Linked DNA regions of Homo sapiens: regions 2 and 3 are each linked to region 1. Evidence: promoter capture Hi-C in 16 types of primary human blood cells and fetal thymus (Javierre and others, 2016). All regions are on one chromosome and are shown on one strand. Each heading gives the region's core, a stretch centred on a gene start or on the middle of the fragment in contact. The rest is flanking DNA. Distances are from core to core; before and after follow the strand shown. Region 1 holds the start of SPRY4 (sprouty RTK signaling antagonist 4). Region 2 overlaps FGF1 (fibroblast growth factor 1). Region 3 overlaps FGF1 (fibroblast growth factor 1).

Region 1 (4,393 bases), core at 970-3,469:
TGGGGTCTCCTCGCATTCTCTTTCAGGGAAGCTGAGAAAGACTATGAAATGTAATCCTGTCTGTCTCCTGAGTTTCTCTAATAAAGAAAACAGGATAGCAACCCCCCTCCCCGCGGCTCCTCCAATCCTCCTTTTCTGCCATAGATTTAAGATTTATTTATTCCCATCCTTCTGACTGTTTCAGCAAGGGCCATGGGTGAGCACCAGCTGGAAAATTACTGCTTCAACTTTCATTGTTTAAAATGCTTAAATGACATGCGAGAAACAGGTTTTTAGGTCTGTGATGCTGAGAAGGGTTGGTAGCAAAGTAAAGCCAGGTTGCAAAGACCTAGAAAATAAGTGCTACAATTTACCAGCTCTTCCATATACCCGGTGCAGGACCCTTGGCCTCAGTTTCTACAGCTGACAGAGAGGGCGATACTGAACTTCAACAGCCTTAAAAGGAAGTCCTGGACAACTGTACCCATTTTTCTGGCGAAGAGTTCTCTTGGTCTTAGAGAAAGGTCTCGCCCCTGAAAGGAAGGCTGAGGTTCCCTAGGGGAGAGTCTGCTCTGCCCTCAGGAGCTGGGTAAGTACACGGAGGGGTGAGCCGAATGGTGAGAAGGCATTTTAGGCTAGGACTCGGTGACCTTGGGCTGCCTGCCTCTAGAGTCCCAGCCCCAGCCCTAGGCCAGACCTCAGCCCTGGGCTGGGAGCCTTTCATTGGTTCCTCTGACAACAGCCAAGCACAATCCTATAGTGGCGTAGGAAGAAAAAGACTGCCACACAATCTCCCCGTGCGGCCAGAACAGCGGCAAGACAGACCTTACAAGGGACTCAGGGCCAAGCCCTGGCCCAGACTCTGCTCTTATCCACGCATCAAAGCCACCCCCCGCCCCGGACTTCCCGGAGGCTACAGGCTCCTCCGTTCCAGGGAGGAGCAGGGCCTGCTGCGAGGGCTCCCCGCCTTCCTGGAGTCAGGCCTAATGGCGGGGGCTTTTCTTTTCACCGGCTTGAGCTGATCCTCACCCCCGCCCCCCAACGCCACCATCATTAACAGCGAAGAAAGGATCCCCAGCCATTTCCATTTCCTCTGCGGCTCAAGAGCCCCGTTGTTATTTAATCCTGAGGCCACCCCGGCAGCATCCTCGGCGCAGCCGGCTCCACCCATCCACCTGGCCAGTTCTCGGCCGCTCCCACTTCCCCGGAGGGGAGGCCGGTGAGAGGTGGGGGATATTGGGGAAAGGCGCCTACAACAGCGAAGGGCCGTGGGCCTTCGGTGGACCGAGGCTCCTCAGGCCAGCGTCCTGTGAGGGCTGGGAAACCGACTGGGACAGAGAAAGGACACCTAGCTAGGGCGACAGAGAGCGGGCAGACGCCCGGGCACTGCGGACATTGCACTGGGGCGGGGGGCGGGGGGAACGCTGGGAGGCGAGGGCCAGGCTTCCTCTGGCTGAGTTGCCAGAATCGCCCCGGGGGGTACTGGAGCCGGAAGAGGCCTGGGCCCAGTCACTGTCTACACCCAAGAAATGGGGGGAGGGGCGGCCAGCACTCACGAGAGATTCAGCCTCAGGAAAAAGAACCAGATTCACTCACCAATCCTCACCCCACCCTTTGATATGAATGATGGACATTTTCCTAATTTTTGGTAAACGCAGCTTCAAGACCCCTCCCGCCTGGCGTCTCTGGTCTAGAGCAAGAGAAGGCCCCCAGTAGGGGTCCTCCCGCCCCCCCTTTTGACTGCCTGCGGGGGGCAGAGATCCCCAGATCTAGGTGTGCCCTCCACCACCCTGCTCTCAACCCGGGATCCGGAGGCCGCAGCGTCCCCCACCCCCCAGCGACACTGACGGTTCCTGCCCAGGCCCGCAGTGGCGTGAAGGTGGCCTTTACCTCCTCTCGCAGGCTGGGAGGGGGTGCAGCCCGCGCAGCTGGCCCAGCTGCAGCAGTCGCCGCCGCCCTCCATTCATTAAAAAAAAAAAAAAAAAGGCAACAACAGCCTCCACTGGAACCTCCACCCCTCTTTGTAAAAGAACGACGGCTCCTGGTGGAGCTTGAGCCAGTCCCAGCAATCACGGGTTAAGATCTTTTCCCGCCCCCCATTCATAAAAAAAGGAGCGGAGCGCATGCGCGCTCAGGGTCTGTTGTGCCCACCCATTCATAGAATCGCGAACGGCACGCGTGCGCACTGGCGCTCCCTTCCCTCCCATTCATAAAAAAGCCATTTTCCCAGGCAGTGGTTGCAACATCGCCGCGGAGGTAGCGAGCTGAGCTGACAGCGCGGAGCTGGCGCTGTGGAGCGCAGGGAGCCTTGCCGGTTCCTCCGACCGGCGTCTGCGAGTACAGCGGCGGCTAACCTGCCCCGGCTTCAGGATTTACACAGACGTGGGGCGATGCTTGTGACCCTGCAGCTCCTCAAAGTAAGTCCATGGCTGGTTTGGAGATCTGAAACTGCCCCTCTCTGAGCCGCGACGCGACTCCCCCCTTGGGCTGGGGCAAATGGTGCGCTATTTCTAGGCGCGCCTCAGTGTTCCTTCCCTCAGCCTGCGCCTCCTTGAGTCGCTGCGGTGCGCCGCAGCTCCCTGACGCCCTCGGCCCGGCCGGCACGGCGCCGGGGGTGTTCACAGCCTGGCACCGCCGTTTCCGACCCCTGGGCATTGCCAAGCCCGGCTTCCCCGCCCTCTGAGACTCGGGAAGCCCCGTGCGTGTCCCGGGAGTTTGCCTCTGGCCTGGCCTCTTTCCTTCTCCTGCCACCATCCGCCTCGAACGCTGGAACGGGCGTCTCTGGGCTTGGTCAGGAGCCACCGTTTGGGTCGGGGGGCGCCCTCGCTCTGGGCGGCTCGCCCACCTCCCAGCTCGGTGCCCACGGTGCCAGCTTTGCCGTGTATCTCCCAGCCCGCCGTAGCGGCCTATGCTCGACGTAGATTTTTTCTTTCTCTTCGGAGCCGTGACGGACTGAATTCCCTCCCCTTCTGCCTCTCCCTCGATGGTCAGCGAGGGGCTGGCTCAGGACTGGGCATTCCTACTCCCTCTCCTTGGCGAGGCGGTTCCTCGCCGTCTGACCTTTGCTCCGCTGCCGCATTTTATGCTATGCAACTGCCTTGCAGTTGACTTTTTCTTGCCTGGCCTCTGTAAGGCCTGAGGCTCCTCGGCCACCCTGTACCTCCCTATCCTCGGGCACCGAGCTGTGCCAGGCCCCGGAGCCCCCAGGCCGCGCTAGGGCTGCGGTGGGGGTTGAAGGTGCGTTTACATAACACCAGGCGTGTGGGAGCTGGAGGAAGAGGTTGCGAATGTAGGAGAGATAAGGCTCCTGCTTTCCCTCCTTCCTTCTTGGTGGTACCAGGCTTGACATCACAGAGAAGAGGATAGAGACGGTATGTTCTGACAAATTCTGAATCGCCAAGACCCCGGGGACAGTGAGCTGGGTGAGGGCGGGTTTGGCTAGCCAGGGCAGCTAGAGCTTGGCTCCATCACTGGGTCCAGGGCTGTGCCCAGTTCCCCCTCCATGCAGACGATCAAAAAGCATTTAGACAGTAGCTGCTCTTGTGCAAGAAGACGGTTTCTCAATTCTCCTTGATTGGGGGCAGGGGGTTGTGGGCAGGAGAGGCAGGGGAGACAGAAAATGGTTGCGTGGCTTATAGGGCTGAAGGATGGGCAAGAGAGGCGAAATGGGCTGGAGGGGCTAGATGGTAGGCAGAGTAGGGAGCTGCTGGCTGCCTCTTTCACCAGCTGCTGGAGGGGCATCCATATTGCCAAGGCCTCTGTGAGGGCAGGAGGCCGCCTTCTGGCGCAGCAAGGCTTCCGTACCCCCCAGCGCGGTTAGTGCTGGAAAGAAGAGTGTACAGTGGGGTGCCCAAACCTAGTGGCATCCCCTTCTTTCCTGCCTCCAAATCAGTGGCGTGATTCTCTCCAGTTTTGGGAGAGGCCAGACACACTGGAGGCCAAAGAACTTGCAGAGGGGCGGGAGCAAGCACTCGTCTGTGTCTGTAGCTGACCGAGGCACTAACCTCCCTGACAAGTCTCTCGGGATTCAAAGCTGGAAGGTATAAGGCTCAGAGAAGTTGGGAACTGCGGGTTTATCAATCTCTTAATGAGCTCAGTCTGGCCTGAGGCCCTACCCAATATTGCACTGGTGGATTTCACAATGTTTGGAGTTCTCCAGATCTTCACACAAATGGAGCATAAACATCTCTGAAATTTTCAGCCTTTTTTTTTTTTTTTTTAGGGCGGGTGTCAGGAGAGCTAGGAGAGGCAGGGCTGCAGTTAAAGATTTCTCTTTCTCTCTCCCTCTCTGTCTCCCAGAAGGGTGGGAAAGAACTAGTGGAGATGTCCAGTGTGAAATCACATTTCCTCTTTCCCATCTCTTGGGAGGGTTCTCACGTGCTGCGAGGCTCCAGCAAATCCTAATGTGGTGAAC
Region 2 (4,433 bases), core at 1,770-4,269, 270 kb before region 1:
TCATTCATTCCAAAAATGTTTTTCTTTCTTTTTTTCACTTTGAGACAGGGTCTGGCTCTGTCGCCCAGGCTGGAGTGCAGTGGCACAATCATGACTCACTGAAGCCTCGAACTCCTGGGCTCAAGAAATCCTCCCCCCTCAGCCCCCTGAGTAGCTGGGACCACAGATGAATACCACCATGCCCAGCTAATGTTTTTATTTTTTGTAGAGACAAGGTCTCACTATGTTGCTGAGGCTGGTCTCAAACTCCTGGGCTCGAGCGGCCTCAGCCTTCCAAAGTGCTGGGATTATAGGCCACCACACACAGCCCAAAAATGTTTCTTGAGTACCTAGGTACTACGTGCTATAGGTGTGTCTCTTATTGCTTTTTACACAAATGGCAGAGCCTGGGCTTTCATAGTTTATATGTCATGCACAAAACTTTGAAAATAGCCCCTTTTATTCTGAAAGGATCACCTAAAAGGATAGAAAGCTTAATAACTTAATTCAACATTTATCAAATGTCTCCTGTGTCTAAGTGCCATGTTAGGTACTGAAAGGGTGTGAGGATGAATGAGCTGCAATGGAGAGGCATAGTCTAATTGTTTCTTCAGTAGCTAAAATCCTCCATGTTCCCTGCCCTTTCCCTATCATAGCTAGTGCTTTATACAGGTTTGACCATGTATAGATAGGTCTTTATGGGAAAGGAATAGAAATAGAGGCAATGTGATTTTGCCCCTATTGGTATCTCTGTGACAGGAGTTAACTGGAGAGACAGCTTAAACCAATGACTGCGGGTTTTGAAGTTATTTCTAGATTTTAATGTTCCCTCCTCTGTATCCTAACAGTTGATAAACTAAGGCTTGGCTGTAATTCCTAGCCCAATCCACACCCCTTTCCTCCCTTTTATGAAGATGTCTTCAAAAAGACAGTCAGTAGGGGGAATTTTAGTCTGGAGCTTCAACTTACATCGAATTGCCAAGTGACAGAGGGCACAGAAACCCTCTCTTGAAGTTGTCATCTCAGCCAAGGGTCCCAATGTGAACACAGCTTCGTTTCCTCTCACTGCCCACTAGGGATCAGGAGATTAAATCATCAGCGTAATAGGTAACCTCTAAAATGCTATGTGCTCAGTACAGATCACCTGGGACGGCTTTAAGGGGTTTGGCAGTAGGGGATTTTTTTAAGGTAGTTCTTCCAAGTGGTAGTAAAATCAATCCATCAGTCAATCGCTTAGTCTCAGACTCATGATTGAATCTCACGCCTCTGCCACTCTGGCAAGTCACTTACCCACTCTGAGCTTTGTCTAAAATGAGGACAGTCATGGATCATAACCGCCTCACACAGAGCGTACATGGGTTCAGTGGTGCAACACACAGAATGCGCCCATCAGAGTGGCTGGCACGTCACAGACCAGTGGTGGCTGTAAGACAAGTCATCAGCTTAGAAGCCCCTCACCCTCACTGTGTCTTAGGTTATGCCACAGTTTTATGGCTTTTCCCTCTTTAAATAAATTTTGACGTTTATTGTAACCTGCTTTCACTTATATAAAAATATTGAGGGAGAACTCCCAGAATCTAATTTCCGATAGGCTCCAGGCACCCCCTTCTCCCACCATAGCCGTGGCCATCACTACAATTCACCTGAAATATGATCTTAGTATATTACGCCTAAGAATGTTTGCATTTTCCCCATTGATAAAGAGAAGTTCTAAGATATCTCAAAGCTCTGCTTCATGCTCTTCATAAAATTTAGGCACTAATCCATCCTGATTCAAACTTGTGTGTGTGGAAAGGATATGTATATTTTTTTTAAGTTTGAAAGGCTATATATCAAAATACTGATATAGTTATCTCTGGGGGTGGAGAATGGGTGATTTTATAATATGTGAATAACTTCCTGTATTTTCCAATTTTTTTTTTACAGTAAGTATATGTCACCTATGTAATTTAGGGTGGGAGGGGAAACATGCCAAATATAAAAAAGAAGACAATTTAAACAATAGACATGAATCAATAGTTAAGCCACATGTCTTCAGCATTGTACCAAGTGCATAATGAGTGCTAACAAATCCTGGTGGAGGGACGGAGCACCGCTGATCTGGCCTGCTGACTCAGCCTGTGACTCAGCTATTTTGTGTGTGTCAACTCCTCCAGTATAATAGAGACATCAGGTGGGGAATGTGGCCATCCTCACCTTCGTCACAGAACACAGGCCTGATGCCCACTATGAGGTGTCAGGCATGAGTCCTCCCTACAAGGGAGTGGGCAACCCACATAGGTCCAAGCTGTCTACCTCCTTCTACCCCCAACAACATGCATCAAACACGAATGTCTGCACCAAGTTCCTCTAGAGGCAGCAGAGTCATCCAATAAAATATTATATTTATATCTCATCTTGTTCCAATATGATCTAAAGTGTCTCACCCTGTTGTCATTTCACTAGATTATGAATGAATAAGAAGCAGGATACTTCCTGTTACACAGTTCCTTACTAAGAAAGGCTGACTTTACTGACTGCTTTATATTATCTCAAGAATCAAATTAAATGCATTACTTAGCTGGTGAGCACCTATTATTTGCAAGGCTCTGTGTCTGGGGGATGGAGAGAAGACCAACAAGATTCCATCTCCTTCCTCACTAGGGTTTATAATCTAAAGAAACAAACATGCTCACACATAGAGAACAATGAACAATATAATTGGAAACCGCCAGACAGGGAATCACCAACCACTGTGGGTGAAGAGAGACTGCAGGGGTCACACGACTTGAAAAAGGCAAAGCAAAGTCAGATGTCTCAGTTCCAGCATAAGTGTTTTAATATACCTGTTTTAGACCCAAATGTAATAAATATATTCTAAGATCTTGACGAATAGAAAGTTCAAAAACTGAGTTCCCCTTCCACCAACAGATTGACTACAAGTAAGCAAAATAGTGGTTGCTGGATTTTTTTCAAGTAACTGCACTCTTTAATACGTTGTGGCTGATTTTCAACTTAATAAATGTACAGCTGCACTGGGTTCTACTGTACGGATATTCTTTTACCCACTTAACCAATCACCTTTCCATGGACATATAGGTTACTCCTAATCGCTTGCCCCTATAACCATTGGTTCAGAGACCATCCTCAAAAATACAGTTGTACACTTACTCAACCATCTCCTAGGGGTAGATTCCTAGAAGTGAAATTGCTGAGTCAAAGGTAATACATCTTGTAAATTTTGATACATATTGCTAAATTGTCTTCAGAAAGTTTCCACTAATTTTTCTCGCCAACTGTGCATGGCAGTGCCTAGTTCCCACATTCTAAGTCTTGCAAATGGTTTTTTATCTTTGCACAAATTTTTTTTTATCTTTGCACATAGGATAGCTAACATATGATAAATAATTTTTAATTTGCATTTTTCTCGTTAGCAGTATTGAATGTTTTCATAGGTTTGTTGTTCATTTTTAAAACATCAAATAAAACATGACATTTTGATGATATCATAAGTCTATATCCATATAGCCTTATCTAGTCTGTATGTACATAAAGAGATGTAAGGCAGGATGTTTATCAGTGATTAACAGTTGCCTATATCTGGGTGGTGGGTTTTGGGATAGTTTTTTCTTTTTACAAAGTAAAGGTATATTTTTAAAAGTACAATTCTTCTTATAAGTAGCATTTTTATTACTCTTTAGAGACAGGTTCTTGCTCTGTCACCCAGACTAGAGTGCAGTGGTACAATCATAGCTCACTACAGCCTCAAACTCCTGGGGTCGAGCAATCCTCCTACCTCAGCCTCCTAAGTAGCTAGGAGGACAGGCACACACCATGGCACCTAGCTAATTAAAAAAAAAAAATTGTAGAGAATGGGTCTTGCTATGTTGCCCAGACTGGCCTCAAATTCCTGGGCTCAAGCAATCCTCCTGCCTCAGCCTCCCAAAGTGTTGTAATTACAGGCACACACCATGGCACCTAGCTAATTAAAAAAAAAAAAATTGTAGAGAATGGGTCTTGCTATGTTGCCCAGACTGGCCTCAAATTCCTGGGCTCAAGCAATCCTCCTGCCTCAGCCTCCCAAAGTGTTGTGATTACAGGCACACACCATGGCACCTAGCTAATTAAAAAAAAAATTGTAGAGAATGGGTCTTGCTATGTTGCCCAGACTGGCCTCAAACTCCTGGGCTCAAGCAATCCTCCTGCCTCAGCCTCCCAAAGTGTTGTGATTACAGGCATGAGCCACTGTGCCTGACCACAAGTAGCATCTATTTATAAGATTCTTTTTATAAGTAGCAAAAAATAAAGCTATTTTCATTTTAAAAAATCTACATTCTAGGATATGTTTCATGCTTAGGATAAATTTTGCACAAGCATATCTTCATAACAATACTCAGGTAAAATCCTGACGTTAGTGAAAATCACCAGGATAAAAGGCATTTTAGCAGCTTTTTGTTTATTCTTTAAGTCTAGCC
Region 3 (4,294 bases), core at 910-3,409, 290 kb before region 1:
AGCTCCATCGCTTACTAGCTGTTGCCCTTGGGCAGGTCACTGAACATCTGTAAGCTTTGGTTTTATTAAAAATGATGATAATATTAGTGTCCACTTCAAGGGATTATGGTGAGATTACTTGAGATAACCTGTAGCCCAAAATACGTTAATGATGAGGGTGATGATTTTTATTCTAAGACCACTTGATAATCAATATGTATTGATGATCACATTCACTACTCACACTTACAAAGTACAGCTCCCAGGCCGGGCGCGGTGGCTTACGCCTGTAATCCCAGCACTTTGGGAGGCCGAGGCAGGCGGATCACGAGGTCATGAGTTCAAGACCAGCCTGGCCAACATGGTGAAACCCCATCTCTACTAAAAATATAAAAATTAGCCTGGTGTGGTGGCGCATTCCTGTAATCTCAGCTACTTGGGAGGCTAAGGCAGGAGAATTGCTTGAACTGGGACCCGGGAGGCCAAGGTTGCAGTGAGCTGAGATCGTGCTACTGCACTCCATCCTGGGCTACAGAGACTCCGTCTCAGGAGAAAAAAAAAAAAGTGCAGTTCACACGTTAGTTTCCTGGTCTCTTTTTGGCCTCTTTCTTTTCAGTTTTTAGAGTCACCAGCACTTCCTTCTCCTAAATGGTGGGGCAAGTATATGTTTTAACCAATTCTAATGCTCATTGGTTTTGTTTTTTAATCCTTTGAGGTGTAAGTGATGCATTTTCACATTAATAATATAAGTTTGTATGTAGTGGCTACATATAATGTTAAAGGTATATTATATATAATATGGTGGTTTCTGTGTTCTATCTCACATTAGAAAATAGCTAGGATGAAAACAGCCTGCGTGCAAGGGACAGACCCACCTTCTCTGTGCCACATGAAGCTATGTGGAAAGCTGCAGAATGGGCAGGAACCAGGCATAGCCTTCATAATGATCTGTCTCATAACATTTCCTTTGATATGGTATTTGCCCTTTAAAAACCCCACTTACTCCCACTCTGTGCCTTTTTCCCTGGTTCCAGTTCTGTTTCCCCCAGCAAATCCAGAAGCTTCCCTTAACATACTAACCCTTTACTTTCCCTGTTGTGTCCCTGAAAGGCCTCCTGTGCCTTTGGCTGCAGGTCCCGAACGTCCAGGCCATCTGTGCTATCTGCTTCGCGGTACCTCACCAACGCAACGTGAGGGTGGAGGGCAGAACCTTGGTCCTGGCCTCTCAGCTTTTGTGGGTTTCAGCCAGACCCTAGGTGTTATTTTAGTGCAACTTTGGTGTTTAATTTGAGGATGTGTGTGGACCAGAAGGAGGGACCAAAACATGATTCTTTTCCCCATGGTCAGATGATTAAATTTGAAGTTCTAAAAAATGCAGTTTGGTCCAAAGCTGTGTCCAATTGGGAAGAGAGAAAAATGCCCTGGAAACCCCTCCCAGGCCTGGGACCATCCTTCCTTAACCACCAGCCACCTCACAGGCCCGCGGACTGCGGGCATCACCTGGGCAGGCTGTGCTTACTCACTACCCGGGAACCCTGTGCCCTGGAGCTGTCCTTCCTCTCTTCAAAGTGCATTTTGTGCCTTTGCTGGAAGAACCGACTACAGGTTTGTTCAATTTCTTACAGTCTTGAAAGCGCCACAAGCAGCAGCTGCTGAGCCATGGCTGAAGGGGAAATCACCACCTTCACAGCCCTGACCGAGAAGTTTAATCTGCCTCCAGGGAATTACAAGAAGCCCAAACTCCTCTACTGTAGCAACGGGGGCCACTTCCTGAGGATCCTTCCGGATGGCACAGTGGATGGGACAAGGGACAGGAGCGACCAGCACAGTAAGCCCATCTCTATGGCACCCCCCTTCCCTTTCTGACATCTTCTGTAGTCAAGGTGGGAGGAAGGTGCACATTTAAGTACAGGTACTTGCTTCTCCAAGGTTCTATTCAGGCATGACACATTCAGAGGTGGAGTCACATAAATGCGTAAAATGTCTGGGTTTAGAAAATAGGGACTTGTGGGGGCCACCACTTACCCAAACGTGTCCTATTTCAAGTTTTTTAAAGCACTCTCTGCTGACCCAACAGAACGGGCTGCCGGTGCTCAATTGCTGTATGTTTTCCCAGGTTTCTGTAACTAGTGAAAGATCTGGCCCCGAAGGCTAGTCAGGGGCCTGCACGCTTCATGATGGGATGAACCAGACAGGCATGGTGGTAAATCCTGCACAGAGATGTGGGCTCCGTTTCAAGTCAACTGACTCTCCTGGTTATGTTTCCACTGGGCTTGATTTGTGAAATCCCAGTTCATAATCGTAGTCTTACACATCATAAATTATGCAGCTTTCCCTCTGCGTATCACGCAGATGTGGCTGTGGTAACCAGCAGTGGTAAAGTCATTCTCCAGACCTTATAGAAACTGGAGAGTAGGAGCGACTAGCGCCAAATGCTGAATATCTCTTCCAGGACTTCCTGGCAGCCCGGTTCTCAGAGGTGTTGACAAATGAAGGTATGACTCTAGAGAAAAGAATCTTCTTGACTATCTAAGTATAAAAAAATCTCTTCCTTCTGCTTTGGTACTTCTGGCATTGGTGTGTATGTTTGATATTAGGTGTCCAGGTCCTATCGTGATGTTATCTGAGATTCCCTGAGTCCCACTGCAGCATCAGAGGTTACAAAGAAGCCTAAAGTCAGATCCAGTCCCTGCTTAGAGGGTCAGCAATCTCAAGAGTCAAACTTGCCACAAATCAAGAGAAGGAAAATCAGGAGACATAGAAGAAGACAGGCAGGAAGGAAGTTTCTGTAGGACTGGCTTCAAAATGCAATGCAAAACACTCACTTTGACATGATGGTTTATACATCAGGTGGTCTTAATTATTCATGGACCATGCACCAGAGGTTGCAGGCTCTAAGAACAAATGACCACTTCGCTGGTGCTCACGCTGTACCCTCAGATGCACAGGTAATGGGGATGGATGCTGGCGTTTACACGAGGTGACGTTGTTCCTTCCTCCCCACCCACTGCACAGACCCTGGAGATGAGGAGCAGGAAGGCTGAGGCTGGGGCTTGCAGCTGCAGAATTAGCTCTTTTGGGCTTTGTTTTGATGGCTTATCTTCAAATGGGCTTGCTGAATGTCTTATACTCAGTGAAAAACAGGTGTCAGAATGAGGCAAAAAAAAAAGACTCTAGTTTGTTAAATAGCATACATAAGCAATATTCACTGCAAATTAGCAAACTTAGATTGTAGTCCATTGTGTCAGGCATGATACACAACTCACGTGATCTGCCCCACACAACACGAACAAGCTTTAATTCCTCTGGGTTTTAAGTGTTCCTAATACGTCTTAACCAATTTTCTGAAAAAGTAGGGAATGCTCTCCGGTCCTCAGAACCCAAGAGGAAAGACAAACTTCATGATATGTTCCTTGGGGTTAAGCTAGCTCTTCTGGAAACCTTGACTTCTGGAGTAAAAAAAGGCTCCAATACTGGAATTTCTGTAGCAATGGAAAATGGCTTAACTGTTGCCATTCCATCATTAGCACAACAGACTGCACTCTGGGTGTGTAACACTGGCACAACTTCTGGAGTCCACAGTGGATTTGGCCGCCTGACTTAAGATGTCAGGAGCCCCTAGAAAGCAGCACAACGTAGCCCTGGGAGTGCAGGTGAGGATTTCTGCATTCAAGGAATGCCAGATTATTTTCCAAGTGAACTTGGGCAACTGCACCTTTCACCCTCACTTTTCTCATTTGTACAAAAAGAATACTAATATTCCTTGCCTCACAGGTTTCTTGGGAGGGTTAAATGAGATAATATAGTGAGAGTTCTTGGCACAGTGGCTGGCACAGAGGAACAGCACAGCACGTGTTGGTTCATATTGCAGTTATCATCATCAAGCTTTCCATATAATCAGCCTAGCATATGGTAACACAGGGTCGTATTGAAGGACCTTCCAGACTCCTCTTTTTAACAGTACTGCCACCCAGGAAAGTCAAGGGGCTAGATGCAGGCTTAGATTCAGCATCTCTCTGCCAACACTCGGAGTTGTTGTGTGGGCCTATTATTTGCTTACTCTGGAACTAAGAACAAGGACCAAGAGGACAGAGATCAGAGTAAGTGGGGTGGGTGGCCAGAAGCCCATCCGTGTACCTGTCAGTACTGGAACTGGATATTCCACTGAAGAGTCAGCAGGCTCGAGTTCAAGCCTACTCTGCCCCTTTCTACCTGGAGCAGCCCTGGACAATTAACGTTCTTGCCATTATGCATTCTTTCTGTTTGCAAACTCTGCGAAAGAAGCTTCAAGCCCCCCAGCCCTGGGACGCTTCCA

What was found. Contacts are between HindIII fragments. The CHiCAGO score rates a contact against its expected background, and 5 or more counts as called.
Region 2: a fragment that was not itself captured here is called in contact with the fragment with the promoter of SPRY4 in region 1 in 2 of 17 cell types (endothelial precursors and activated CD4 T cells); the score reaches 6.8 in endothelial precursors.
Region 3: a fragment that was not itself captured here is called in contact with the fragment with the promoter of SPRY4 in region 1 in 1 of 17 cell types (naive B cells); the score reaches 5.1 in naive B cells.

What each region holds. Positions count from the first base shown.
Region 1 is chr5:142,322,847-142,327,239 of GRCh38, reverse strand. SPRY4 (sprouty RTK signaling antagonist 4) reads left to right here and starts at 2,219. Exons shown (of 2, transcript NM_001127496.3): 1 at 2,219-2,396. SPRY4-AS1 (SPRY4 antisense RNA 1) reads right to left here and starts at 1,947. Exons shown (of 4, transcript NR_120664.1): 1 at 1,870-1,947. RefSeq lists enhancers at 2,753-2,812, 2,294-3,256, 3,257-4,221. The HindIII fragment of the contact is 6,861 bases long and covers 1-4,393 here.
Region 2 is chr5:142,595,970-142,600,402 of GRCh38, reverse strand. All of the region lies in intron 3 of FGF1 (fibroblast growth factor 1), which reads left to right. Among named protein-coding and RNA genes, the nearest start is that of FGF1, 88 kb to the left of the region's middle. The HindIII fragment of the contact is 5,090 bases long and covers 475-4,433 here.
Region 3 is chr5:142,611,472-142,615,765 of GRCh38, reverse strand. It overlaps FGF1 (fibroblast growth factor 1), which reads left to right. Exons shown (of 4, transcript NM_000800.5): 2 at 1,605-1,807. The coding sequence starts at 1,639. Among named protein-coding and RNA genes, the nearest start is that of FGF1, 72 kb to the left of the region's middle. The HindIII fragment of the contact is 2,233 bases long and covers 1,043-3,275 here.